Linked DNA regions of Homo sapiens: region 2 is linked to region 1. Evidence: promoter capture Hi-C in 16 types of primary human blood cells and fetal thymus (Javierre and others, 2016). All regions are on one chromosome and are shown on one strand. Each heading gives the region's core, a stretch centred on a gene start or on the middle of the fragment in contact. The rest is flanking DNA. Distances are from core to core; before and after follow the strand shown. Region 1 holds the start of MISP (mitotic spindle positioning). Region 2 overlaps HCN2 (hyperpolarization activated cyclic nucleotide gated potassium and sodium channel 2).

Evidence for each region. The method cuts DNA at HindIII sites, captures the fragments that hold promoters and counts their contacts. A CHiCAGO score of 5 or more calls a contact.
Region 2: a fragment that was not itself captured here is called in contact with the fragment with the promoter of MISP in region 1 in 1 of 17 cell types (erythroblasts); the score reaches 5.1 in erythroblasts.

The regions. Positions count from the first base shown.
Region 1 is chr19:747,584-754,168 of GRCh38, reverse strand. MISP (mitotic spindle positioning) reads right to left here and starts at 3,057. Exons shown (of 5, transcript NM_173481.4): 1 at 2,998-3,057. PALM (paralemmin) reads right to left here. Exons shown (of 9, transcript NM_002579.3): 9 at 5,840-6,585. The HindIII fragment of the contact is 4,613 bases long and covers 197-4,809 here.
Region 2 is chr19:593,715-600,299 of GRCh38, reverse strand. The region is part of intron 1 of HCN2 (hyperpolarization activated cyclic nucleotide gated potassium and sodium channel 2); the gene reads right to left. Among named protein-coding and RNA genes, the nearest start is that of HCN2, 7.1 kb to the right of the region's middle. The HindIII fragment of the contact is 2,153 bases long and covers 2,031-4,183 here.

The DNA.
Region 1 (6,585 bases), core at 1,808-4,307:
ATTTTTGTATTGTTAGTAGAGACGGGTTTCACCATGTTGGCCAGGCTGGTCTTGAACTCCTGACTTCAGGTGATCCGCCTGCCTCGGCCTCCCAAAGTGCAGGGATTACAGGCGTGAGCCACCGTGTCCAGCAGACATCATCTTTCATAGTTGAGGAAAGGAAGCCTCACCTGAAGACACAGGGATCTCAAAAGCTTGAGCTCCTGACTCCTAAAAAAAGCACTGTCGGCTGGGCACAGGGGCTCAGGCCTGTAATCCCAGCTACTTGGGAGGCTGAGGTGGGAGAATCACTTGAACCTGTGAGGTGGAGGTTGCGGTGAGCTGAGATTGTGCCATTGCACTCCAGCCTGGGTGACAGAGAAAGACCCTGTCTCAAAAGAAAAACAAACCCCCACAAAGCAGGACTGTCGCTCCCGGGCCACCAAGGCTATTATTTAGATCTGCTGCCTTTACACCAACCAGCAGCATTTTTTTTTGTTTTTAAACAGACAGGGTCGGCCAGGCACAGTGGCTCACACCTGTAATCCCAGCACTTTGGCGGATCACGAGGTCAGGAGATCGAGACCATCCTGGCTAAAATGGTGAAACCCCATCTCTACTAAAAATACAAAAAAAATTAACCGGGTGTGCTGGCGGGCGCCTGTAGTCCCAGCTACTCAGGAGGCTGAGGCAGGAGAATGCTGTGAACCCGGGAGGTGGAGCTTGCAGGGAGCTGAGATCGCACCATTGCACTCCAGCCTGGTGACAGAGCTAGACTCCGCCTCAAAAAAAAAAAAAAAGAAAAAAAGAAAAAAAAAGAAAAACTTAGCCCCTCTCTGAACTGGAAAGTGGCATCAAACAGCATAAAGTGGAGAGACCGTGGGGAGCCGTGTTGAAACTACACGCAATGTGTCATGCAATCTTCCGCGCGTATCAAATGTCAGAAACTAAAATAGGGGAAACATTGAAAACCAGGCGGCATTGGTGAATAAATCCCACACAAACAGCTGAGCTTCCTCCCAAAGCGTGACGCACAGATGGCTCCCCTGACCCGAGGCCTCCTCCTCCGTGGACGCCGCCTGCCCAGCTCACGGAAGGCCTTGCCTTCTCCCACCCGAAACCGTCAGCCCAGGCCTCGCTCTCGCCTGCTGTGGCCACAGGTCAGCACCCTTCCTGCAGCCCAGAGTCTGGTATACAGCAGGCGCCTAATAAATACTGGCTGGGCAAACACCACTCATCCCAGCTGCTCAGACGTGGGGGTCGGGCTCATTGCGGAATGCAGACCGGCTCCACCGTGCCTTCTGGCCCTGAAGGGCTGGGCAGGTCCACGCCCTGCACCCTGGAGCTCCCCGGGGAGGGCGGGTGTAGGAATGTTTGCCCAGTGAGTGGACAGACGTTTACACAGCGGGATTTATAACCCACATCAGACGTCAACTCCGGGAGAAAGGGAGCTGTCCGCCCAGCCTCGAGCAGGTGCCGGGTCTCCCAGTGGGGTCGGGGTTGGGTGGGGATGAAGGCACGCATCCTCCTCTGCTCATTCCTCCCCAGTGATTCACTGAAGCCAGCGGGTGGGGCCTGGGGTCCAGCTCTTGGGTTCAAGGCCACTGGGCCCCCTCCCCTGCTGCCTGTGCCTCAGTGCCCACCCCCGCCCCCCGCTTTTTTTTTTGAGATAGAGTCTCCCTCTGTCGCCCAGGCTGGAGTGCAGTGGCGCGATCTCCATTCACTGCAACCTCTGCCTCCCGGATTCACACCATTCTCCTGCCTCAGCCTCCCAAGTAGCTGGGACTACAGGCGCCCGCCACCACGCCCGGCTAAGTTTTGTATTTTTAGTAGAGATGGGGTTTCACTGTGTCGGCCAAAAAAACCCCTGGATCCACGGCGGCTCTCATGGCCGGCATTCTTGGGCAGCGGCGCTGCCCTCGGGGGAAGAGCCCCAGGACGGAAGATGGCCCCTGCAAGGCCCGGCGGTGGCTAAGGACCTCGGCGTCCTGAGACTCTTCCTGCAACACCTTGGAACCGTTTTCGACTCCGGTTTTCGAGAGAGGGAGCTGGGACCCAGAGAGGAGAACCTGCTCATCTGAGGTCACACAGCGATGACAGAGCAAGTGTCTGAAGCCAGTTTTCAGACTTTGCTCCAAATCACCCCCTCCTACAGGAAGCCCCCTGGGTTGCTCCTCCCAGCCTCACCCTGAACTCTGTTGATACCAGAATGAAACTGGGTTTATGGACCCTGGTGCCACACCTCCTTCCTCATCAGCCAGTTGGCTCTATGTGAGGGGCAAAGGTTCCCTTGTGGGGCCGAGACTCAGACAAGGAGGCCATGCAGAAGGGAGGGCCCCGTTCCTTTTTCCCATCCCTCAGGGTTGCAGTCACCCTTGAGTCATCTCAGCTCCTTGGGCTCCTGGGCGGAGCTCCACCGGCAGACGCTGGGCCGAGTCCCTGCTGGCTGCCCGGGATCCCAGGCTACCACCTCACCCCCACCCGAGGACCCAGGCCAAGTCCCCAGCCCCGGCCTGAGACTCCTTCCGCCTGTACTCAGCCACCCCTCCTCCGTGTCCCCAAACCAGCCCCCAGCCCCACGGGGGTGTTTACTGCCCAGAGCCTCCCAGTCAGGGGCCTGGTGGGACGGATAAGCATCTCTCCAGAAGCCTCTGGAATTCCCAGAACCATGGAGGGGCCCCTCTGGCCTCTGACCATGGGGGTGCCAACCCGGCCCCTCCCTTGGAGGGCTCTGGGATTTGGGGTTCAAAAGCCCCAGCAGAGTTCAGGGACAAGGGCCTCTCTGCTCTCCCAGTGGGTGCCCTTGAGGCCCCAGAGTACCTAGCGGGGGCAGAGGGAAAGGTGCCTCAGGGAGGCTCCGAGGGTGACGGGGTGGGGCAGGGGGCCTCCCTGGATCCCAAGTGCCGCCAGGCAAGCAGACCCCGCCCACAGACACATGACGCTCCCACGCCAAATGTGGATCCAACCGCCCCACACAGGATCCCCGCCCGGCCCGGCCCGGGGCGCCCCCAGCCTCACCTGCCGGCTCCCGGCTCCACAGTCTGCAGCCTCCACTCTGACTCCTCGATGGGCACAGAGGCCTCCCAGCTCCGCCCTGCCCGCCAGGTTGCCAGGGAACAGAGGCCCCACCCAGGGGAGGCAGGTGTGCCCCCTCCCCCCAGCCCCACCTGGGATCAGGAAACAAAGTCCAGAGGAGGAGGAGGGAGAAAGAGGATACCAGGCTGGGCAAGGGCGGGCACCGTGCCCGCTGCCGGCTGCCCCTCCACCCCCAGGGCCTCCAGGTGGCCCCGAGGAGCCAGAACTCAGCCGAAACCTCCCTTGGCTGCCTGGCCCTCCCACCGCCTCTCAGCACCGCTCAGAGAGGGTCAGCAGGTGTCCAGGGCCACACAGCAGCTCAGCGTGCACAGTGGCCTGTGTCTCCTGGGGGGCCGGAGGGGCTGAGTCCCAATCCCGTCCGTGCCTTCTGGCCCAGCCCACCCCTTGGGGCAACTCCCCTAGATGGCCCCCTTCTTGCATAAACCAGGTTTGGCAGACTCGGGGGGGTTTGGTGTGGCCTGGGTTCTGATCCCACCTGACCTCTCTTAGCCCTGTTTTCTCCTCCGGGACGTGGGGGAACATCACGCCCGGGCTCCCTCAGGGCTGCTGGGAGGAATTCCCTAGGCCCCATCCACATAAAAACCCATACGAGGGGGCCGGACTTGGTGGCTCACACCTGTAATCCCAGCACTTTGGGAGGCCGAGGCGGGCGGATCACTTGAGGCCAGGAGTTCGAGACCAGCCTGGCCAACATGGCGAAACCCCGTCTCTACTAAAAATACAAAATTTAGCGGGGTATGGTGGCACGCTATTATAATCCCAGCTACTTGGGAGGCTGAGGCAGAAGAATCACTTGAACCCAGGAGTTGGAGGTTGCAGTGAGCCGAGATCACACCACTGCACTCCAGCCTGGGCGACAAGAGCAAAACTCCAACTCAAAAAAAAAAAAAAAAAAAAAAAAAAAAGAACCGCACGAGGCCGTCAAAAGACCCAGGCCACCCCGAGAGATGGGGACGCAGAGGCCCTCAGGCGCCCATGGTCCTCCTGGATTCTTAGTCAAGGTGCAGAGGCCTTGCTGGGACTGTGGGGAGCCCAGCATCTGTGGGGAAGTCGGGCCACTGGGCCTAGCGCCGTCTATGAGGGCAGGGAACACAGCTGAGGGGGCAGGGACTTCAGTTCCCCAGGCTGGGGCTCTGTCCTGACCTACGCCAGAGGGGCTGCTTGTGGAGCCCCTCTGAACCTCAGTCTCTTCTTCGAGTAAAAAGGCCCCCAGCTACGAATCCAGCAGGGCTGCTCAGGAGGGGGGTGCTTTTTTTGTGTTTTTTTTTTGAGACGGAGTCTCGCTCTTGTCACCCAGGCTGGAGTGCAGTGGCACGATCTCGGCTCACGGCAACCTCCCCTGTTCAAGCAATTCTCCTGCCTCAGCTTCCCTAGTAGCTGGGATTACTGGCATGAGCCACCACGCCCAGCTATTTTTGTATTTTTAGTAGAGACAGGGTTTTGCCACGTTAGCCAGGCTGGTCTCGAACTCCTGACCTCAGGTGATGCCCCCGCCTCAGCCTCCCAAAGTGCTGGGATTACAGGCGCGAGCCACGGCGCCTGGCCAAGATGGGGGTGTTTAAGGACAAATCTGGATAAAGGGCCCCCAAAGGACAGCGTGGCACCTAACGCTGCTGGGTGTGTGAAAGCTCAGGGTGCGCGGCCTCACGGCGCCTCCCACCGCCGCCTCCCGCCACCCCCTTCACGTCCTTTTCTCCCTGGCTTGTAGATAGGGAAACGGAGGTACGGAAAGCTTAAAATCGCGCCTCAGGAATGGCGGGGGTTTAGGCTGGAATTGGAACCTGAGTTCCCTCAGCAGTGCTCTCCACCACACTCACCACCTCATCGGGGAAAACTGAGGCCCCAGCAGGGTGGAGGCTGGATCGCCCATGAGCTGGGGGCACTGTGGAGACGTCCCACGCCCAGGCTGAGGCTGGCCTCCCACTCAGGGCTCCGAAGGCCTATTTTATTTTATTTGAGACAGAGTCTCGCTCTGTCGCCCAGGTTGGAGTGCAGTGGCACGATCTCAGCTCACTGCAGCCTCCGCCTCCCAGGTTCAAGCGATTCTCCTGCCTCAGCCTCCTGAATAGCTAGGATTACAGGCGTGAGCCACCACGCCCGGCTAAGTTTTTGTATTTTTAGTAGAGACAGGGTTTCAGTATGTTGGCCAGGATGGTATCGATCTCTTGACCTTGTGATCCGCCCACCTCGGCCTCCCAAAGTACTAGGATTGCAGGTGTGAAACACCGTGCCCGGCCACGAAGGCTTATTTTACAGATGGGAAAACTGAGGCCCAGAGGAGGCAGCGACTTCTCCAAGACTACAGCGTGAGAGAGTGGGGCTGGCGGGGCAGCACCTTCCCGTGAGCATGACACTGGTCTCTACAGACACCTCCTCCCCAGGCCTCCTGTGTATTTCCCAGGGGCCGGCTTCTCTACAGAGCTTGTGGGTGTCCAGGGGACCCTCTGTCATCACCCAGGGGCTGTGAGCCCAGCAAAGGGAGGAACAAAGGACAGGACGGGGCGGCCGCAGAACCCGAGGGCCCCCCGGGAAGCCAGTCCTGCCCCCCCACAGCAGCCCCTTACAGCCAGGCCTTACCTGCACAGTGGGGATTCCAGCGCCTCCCACCACCCCAAGGCGCTCAGGGTGAGCGGGTGCAGGCAGGTGAAGCCAGCACACCGCAACCCTGCTCAGCCTCCCTTTAATGGCTCAAAGGCCGGCAGGCCCCACCCCCTGGCCTGGCCACGCCTTCCTCGCCAGGTTGAAAGGCAAGAACTCCAGGAACTGGGGCTGTTCACGCTGTTTATTTGCTTCTCTGGGAAAATCAAGAACATCGGGGGCCTCGTCACACACCAGAAGCAGAGGGGGTTATAGCAAGGGCACTTCAGCGAAGGCTCGCGGCTCGAGGGACTCAGGCAGACTCCAGGGAGGAGGAGGGGGTTCCACGGCTGACGCCCAGGTCACCCCCGAGAGGGCCTCTCCTCCCAGCCACCCAGGGGCAGAGCGGAGGCAGGGACCCAGGCTCCCATCCGAGGTGGCCCCTGTACCTGCCCTGCCGAGGCTGCAGGTGGTGACTGGACCAGGAGGTGGCCTGAGCACTGGGCACCAGGCTGGAGGTCCCTAGGGCAGGGACCAAGTTGGGGCCTGGTTGTCCAAAGCCAACGTGTGAGACGGTGTCTGTGAGAATGTGCACGAATGTGCCTCTGGGGACGAGTGTAGCTGCCCCCAGGAGGGAAGCCCCTTGCCACTTCCAATGAGAGGGGGCTGGGGGCAGGCTCACATTGGTCTGGGTGGCAAATGAGGGTCTCCTGCTCCAACCCAAGAGGCTTCCTGTCCCAGGCTGTGTCCCTCCCTCCACTGCCCGGACGTGCTCCAAGCCCAGTAGAGCTGGCAGGTGGGGCCTGATCTCGGGGTATGGTTGGGAAGACCCAGGACCCTGGTCCAAGCAGGATGGAGAAGAGGCCGGGGGCGGCCCCTGGGGTCCCCAAATTAGCACCAGGAGGAAGGAGGGCCCAGTGGGGGCGGGAGCTC
Region 2 (6,585 bases), core at 1,858-4,357, 150 kb after region 1:
TCGGGACGCTGAAGCAGGTGAATTGTTTGAACCCGGGAGGTGGAGGTTGCAGTGAGCCGAGATCGTGCCACTGCATTCCAGCCGGGGCAACAGAGCGAGACTCTGTCTCAAAGAACAAAACACAACAAAACAAAAACCTCTGGGCTCTGGGGCCAAGGGCTCTTGCTGAAGGGGAGGTTCCAGACTGGGGTCTGAGCCCACATGGCCTGCGTGTGCCTGACTCAGACAAGGGAGGGTCTTGAATTTCCAGCACAAAGATTCATAGGATTTTGCCATTAACACTGGGGGCTAGGCCAAACACACTGGCTCATGCCTATAATTCCAACATTTTGGGAGGCTGAGGTAGGAGGATCGCTTGAGCCCAGGAGTTCAAGACCAGCCTGGGTAACATGAGACCCTCTGACACACACACACACACACACACACACACACACACACACACACACACACACGGGACCCCTTCCCATCCCTGTACCAACTCAGCCTTCTTAGTTCTTGAGGTTTTCTTTTTTGAGACAGAGTCTCACTCTGTCGCCCAGGCTGGAGTGCGATGGCACAATCTCGGCTCACTGCAAGCTCCGCCTCCAGGGTTCACACCATTCTCTTGCCTCACCCTCCCGAGTAGCTGGGACTATAGGCGCCCGCCACCACGCCCAGATAATTTTTTTTTTTTTTTGTATTTTTAGTAGAGACGGGGTTTCACCATGTTAGCCAGGATGGTCTCGAACTCCTGACCTCGTGATCCGCCCGCCTTGGCCTCCTAAAGTGCTGGGATTACAGGCGTGAGCCACCGCGCCCGGCCAATTCTTGAGGCCTTATCCCCACCCCAGGCCCAGCCCCTCCCTATCATGGCCGGGGTCCCCACATCCTTTCGGAGGAGATGCTGAGGGACTGGAGGGACTCCCCAAAGTTAACACCAATAAAGAAAAACCTGGGAGCTCATCGCTGGCGTGGCCGCCGGGACCTTTGTTTCAGGAGCCGCCGAAAGTCGGCTCCTTGCTTCTGGACGGCTCCTCGAGGGAAAAGCTGTTAACACCACGTCTGCGGGGTGACCCAGACGCTCCACTTCGGGGAAATGATCCCGAGGAAACGGTCCAAAAGGAAGAGAAAAAAATTAAAAAGCCATTTGTACCAAAATGTTCACAGCAGCTCGGTCTGCAAGAGCCAAACGCTGGAAGGGACCCAGCGACTCACATCGTGGTGGCATCAGCCAGACCTGGGCTGGCACCCGCCTGCTGGCACAGTGACCTTGGACAAGTTCCTGCAGCCCCTGAGAACCTCAGTCTCTTCTTCCAAGCATCCACCGCCTCGGGATGGGGAGGGGCTGAGCCTTCGGGACACCCCCCAAGAACCACCCAGGCTGGGGATAAAACCTAGAGAAGGGCTGACTCAGGCTGGGCACGGTGGCTCACGCCTGTAATTCCAGGGCTTAAGGAGGCTGAGGCGGGCAGATTACAAGGTCAAGAGATCGAGACCATCCTGGCCAACACGGTGAAACCCCGTCTCTACTAAAAATACAAAAATGTATTATTTTTTTGTGTGAGGTGGCGGGCGCCTGTAGGCCCAGCTACTCGGGAGGCTGAGGCAGGAGAACGGCATGAACCCGGGAGGCGGAGCTTGCAGTGAGCCGAGATCGCGCCATCGCACTCCAGCCTGGGCGACAGAGCGAGACTCCGTCTCAAAAAAGAAGGGAAGGGTGGGTGCAGGGGCTCATGCTTCTAATGCCAGCACCTTGGGAGGCCAAGACTAAAGGATCACAGAAGCTCAGGAGTTCAGGACCAGCCTGGGCAAGATAGTGAGATCCCGTCTCTACAAAAAATACAAAAATTAGCCAGCGTGGTGGTGCGCACCTGTGGACCCAGCTACTTGGGAGGCTGAGGTAGGAGGATTGCTCGAGCCCATGAAGTCGAGGCTGCAGTGAGCCAAAACTGCACCATTGCACTCCAGCCTGGGTGACAGAGTGAGACTCTGTCTCAAAAAAAAAAAAGGCTGACTTGATCTCGGGGTGGGGAGGGGTCCCCTCACAAGCTTGAAGGGTGAAATCAAATGACTAAAAGGACTAGAAATTTAAGGCCTTCCTTTCCCTGAGTCTAGACAGGACATGAGGGCTCAGGCCCCCAGTCCGACACATCTGCTCAGCAACGAGACCCCCAGGGCCCCAGCACCGAGTGGGCTGAGGGGATGCCACCCGCCTGCCGCTGGCCCCCTGCCCCTCAGCCCCGAGGGGGCTCACCGTGGAGCTCAGCCCCAGCCTCACCCTCTGGATTGAGACCTGCCTCCCACCTTCGAGCACCAGTCTTGGGACAAAACCAGCAGGAAAGAGCAGTTGAGAAGGCCACAGGGCCTAGAAACCTCCCCCACGAGGGGCGAGGAGAAACTCCCAGGGGGCTCCAGAGACCACCAAGGGGGACCTAGAAACTGCCAAGGAGACCTAGAAACCGCCAAGGAGACCTAGAAACCACCAGGAGGACCTAGAAACTGCCAAGGAGACCTAGAAACCACCAGGAGGGCCTAGAAACCACCAAGGGGGACCTAGAAACCACCAGGAGGACCTAGAAACCACCAGGAGGACCTAGAAACCACCAGGAAGACCTAGAAACCACCAAGGAGACCTAGAAACTGTCAAGGGGGACCTAGAAACCGCCAAGGAGACCTAGAAACCACGAGGAGGACCTAGAAACCACCAAGGGGGACCTAGAAACCACCAGGAGGACCTAGAAACCGCCAAGGAGATCTACAAACCACCAGGAAGACCTAGAAACCACCAAGGAGACCTAGAAACTGTCAAGGGGGACCTAGAAACCGCCAAGGAGACCTAGAAACCACCAGGAGGACCTAGAAACCGCCAAGGGGTACCTGGTTTTAAACGGCCATATAACATGAAGGCCTCCTTTCCAGGTGATGATTAACAGACATTCTCCCCCTTTATTCTTGGGGTGAGCTGGGGGCAGGTACCACACCTCCCCTCTGATGGAAGTGGGACTGCAGGATGAGACCCCAGGACTGTCCTCTTATCCACGGCCCACACTGTCTGGAAACCACCTCCCTTGAGCCTTCTGCTCCTGTGTCCCCAGAAAGGACTCCTCAGCCCATCTTGCCCAGCAGGGCAGTATTCCTGGGGATTACGGGGGTCAGAGCAGAGGGGCCTAGGAGAAGGGACAGGTGGGGTGGCCACCCTGAGGGTCCCTTGTGGGGCTGGGCCTGCCCGTTCCAACCACAATGCCTCCAAGCAGGGCTTGGGGCCGCAACCCTCGTCGTCACCAGCCAGAGGTCAGAAGGAAGAAGGGCGCCCACGCATGTCCCCTACCAAGGGGAAACCGAGGCCTGGGGCAGAGGGGACCCCAGAGCCCTGCAGGGCGTCACTGTCTCTGCCGGTGCACCCCAACCCTCTCCACCCCAACCCTCTCCTTGCCCAACACTAGACTGAGTGACCTTGGGAGACCCTCTCCTGCCTCTCGCCCTGGGGAGGGGGAGGCAGCTCCAGAAGACAGGACCCCAGAGAGGGGACCTGGGGTCAGGGGAAGGCCCAAAGCCCAACCCCACTCCCCCTCACACTCTGTGCAGCCGCGTCCGGCAGCCCTTTCCCCATCCGGCCACCATAGGGACCCAGGCGGGCCCCAGCACTCCCCGGGCACCCTGTGCCCTCCTTGTCCAACCCCAGTGCTGAGCAGGGACAGGCCCCCCTCAGCTGTCACAGAAACATCAGTGACCATCATTAAATCCTGTATTTAAAACCCATCCCCGACAGGTAACAGTGAGGCCTCTACGAGGGCCCCTTCCTCGGAAACGCGGGGGTCCTGCCACTTTGTCCAGCTTGGCCCTCGCAGGCAGGGAGGGAGACCAGCTCCGGAGGCCGGGATGAGGCTGGGTCCCTGGGGAAACCTTCCGGCCTCAGCTCTCACACCTGGGGGACCGGAAGAAGCCTCGGACCCCCTCTCACTCCAGAGTGGCTTCAGTGGGGCCCCCGGCACCTGACACCGATGTGAGCTCAGCCCTCCTCCAACAGCCGCCCAGCCTCTCTCTCGGCTCTGACACGGAAACTGAGGCTCCTCCAGCCATAAGTGAAACAGTGGGATGGGAACCCAGACAGACCATGTCATTCTCCTGCCCCGAGCTCAGGGTTCTTCCCCTGAAGTTCCCAAAGCCGACGCAGGTCCCCGTCTCTCCAGGGCTGGATGAAGCTTGGGGGAGGAGGCCGCCGACCCGGCTCCCAAACCCCACGAGGACACCAGGTCTCCTGGCAACAGAAGGCCCAGGACCCTCAGCCCCTTGGATCCCAGGGGAGGGCCTGCCCAGGGGGTCTTCAGCCCCTGCTGGAGCCTGAGTCCCGGGTTGGGGAACGGGCGAGGGCAGCCAGGCCCTCCCCGCAGGAGCCCAGCCTCAGGCCGGAGGCCGTCCAGGATTTACAGATGGGGACAATCCGGGAGAGGATTAGGGGCCGGAGGTCGGTGATTAAGGGAGAGCCTCGGGCCGGGGGATTAGGAGACGGCACTCTCAGCTGTGGAGTCATGGCCAGATCCGTGGCAGGTGCCCAGGATTAAGAAAGGGAGCTGCTACGGGTGGGGGAGATCTCGGGTTCCCGGGTGATCCCGACGGGGCAGATGTTCACCGAACTCTCGCCGGGCGCCGGGGCACACGATGACCACACAGGCCCAGCCCCAAGACAGACACATGGGATGGGCCTGTCAGCCCCAGGCAGGTGGGAGGGCTCCTTGGAGGAGGTGGCGTGTGGGTGGATGAGATGGTGAGGGGAGGGCAGTGGCTGAAGAGGGGCAGCAGGTGCGGAGGTTGATGCTCCGGGTTCCCTTCAAGGCCGGTGGGCGGCCTCGGGACCAGGGGACATGACTGGGGAGGGCTGGAGCCAGGGAGGAGGTAGAGGTGACAGGGAAAGAAGGACCGATGTCTGGAGAGGCCCATGCTGACAGCCGGGAGGCCAGAAAGGGGGACGGGGAGGCATCTGGCAGGAGAGAGGCGGCCAGCGCACAGGGTGCGAGGCTGAACCGTGGGGTGGGGGGTGAGGCAGGGCCCGGCCCAAGTGAGTGGGGGGCTGATGAAGGTGACTTGAATATGTGGGTTTTTAGGTTTTTTTTATTTTTTTGAGACAGGGTCTCACTCTGTTTCCCGGGCCGGAGTGCAGTGGCACGATCATAGCTCACTGCAGCCTCAACCTCCTGGGCTCAGGTGATCCTCCCGCCTCAGCCTCCAGAGTAGCTGGGACTACAGGTGCACGCCACCACGCCTGGCTAATTTTTTAACTTTTTGTAGAGATGGGGGTCTTGCTATGTTGCCCAGGCTGGTCTCGAACTCCTGGGCTCAAGCGATCCTCCCGCCTCCGCCTCCCAAAGTACTGGCATTACAGGCATGAGCCACAGTGCCTGGACAAAGATGTCCGTTTTCGAGCAGGGAACATAGGGAAGGCCCTGAAGAGAGCGGGGAGGCCTTGGCCACCCCGACCCCTGACCCCTCCACGCAGACCAGAGGGCAGGCCACCGCCACCTGGGATATGGGTCCATGCACACCCCACCATCCTGCACACGCTGGGCCTTCCTGCCGTGACCAGAGCCAGACAAACCCTCGCCTCGCCCTGCCCCCGGGGCCATCCCCCCAGGATAATGGGGGGTTTATTCCCACGCCCTAATGCTGGGATTCATCACTGCGGATTTGCAGAGCTGCACCCCCAGGCTGATCTCCCGCTGACCCACTCAGCCATCTGAGGCGGGGCCCAGGGGCCGCCTGTCCTGGTGGGGTCTTGGAGCAGCTCCTCCCCGACCAGTCCTCTCGGGGACCCCAGGGGACATAACAGATCCTGGCTTTGGGGAGCATCTCGTCTGTCTCCCCTCACACGGGGCCTCCCCAGCTGAAGACAATTCAGAAACACAGACCTGCAAGTCAGCAGCAGCAGGAGACGGCAGGGCGGCCACAGGGCACTTAGCCCTGGAACTGGACCGAGGGCAGTCAGGAAGCCGCCAGCCTCTCTCCACCCGACACCTGCCCTGTGCCCCCCAGAGCTCCCAGGGCACAAACCCCGGATCTGCCCAGGTCTCCACCCCGCCAGGTCTGCCCAGCCCCCTCGGTGACACCGGGGGCAGGGAGGGTGGATGACAGCAAGCTTCGGAGAACGCGACCTCCTCAGACCGCCCCTCCCTGGGCCTTCGTGTCCCCTCCAGCCCCAGCCCCTCTCCTGCGGAGACACCCTCCAGCCCCAGCCCTTCTCGTGCAGAGACCTCCAGCCCCTGCCCCTCTCCTGCGGAGACACCCTCCTTTGCACGACTCAGGCTTTCCCAAGTGGACCTGTGTGGCCTTTAGAATCAGCGGCGGCTGGGGTGAAGGGAGTAGGAATGAACTATACTTATTTTTGACCTAATTTTGCTCTGGGAGGCACAGAAGACCCTGCCGAAGCCCTGGGGGTTGCATAAGGCCAAACCCCTTCCTTCTTGGTTTTCACGCCTGTTCCAATTCAGGCACCAACCGTGATCACCTACAAGGAAGGGAACTTGAGCCTCTGGAACCCAAAACCTTGAACTTGGGTCCTTGAACTTGCTCTTCCACCAGCACCCCAGGGAAGCGCCCAGCATGCCTCTGGGG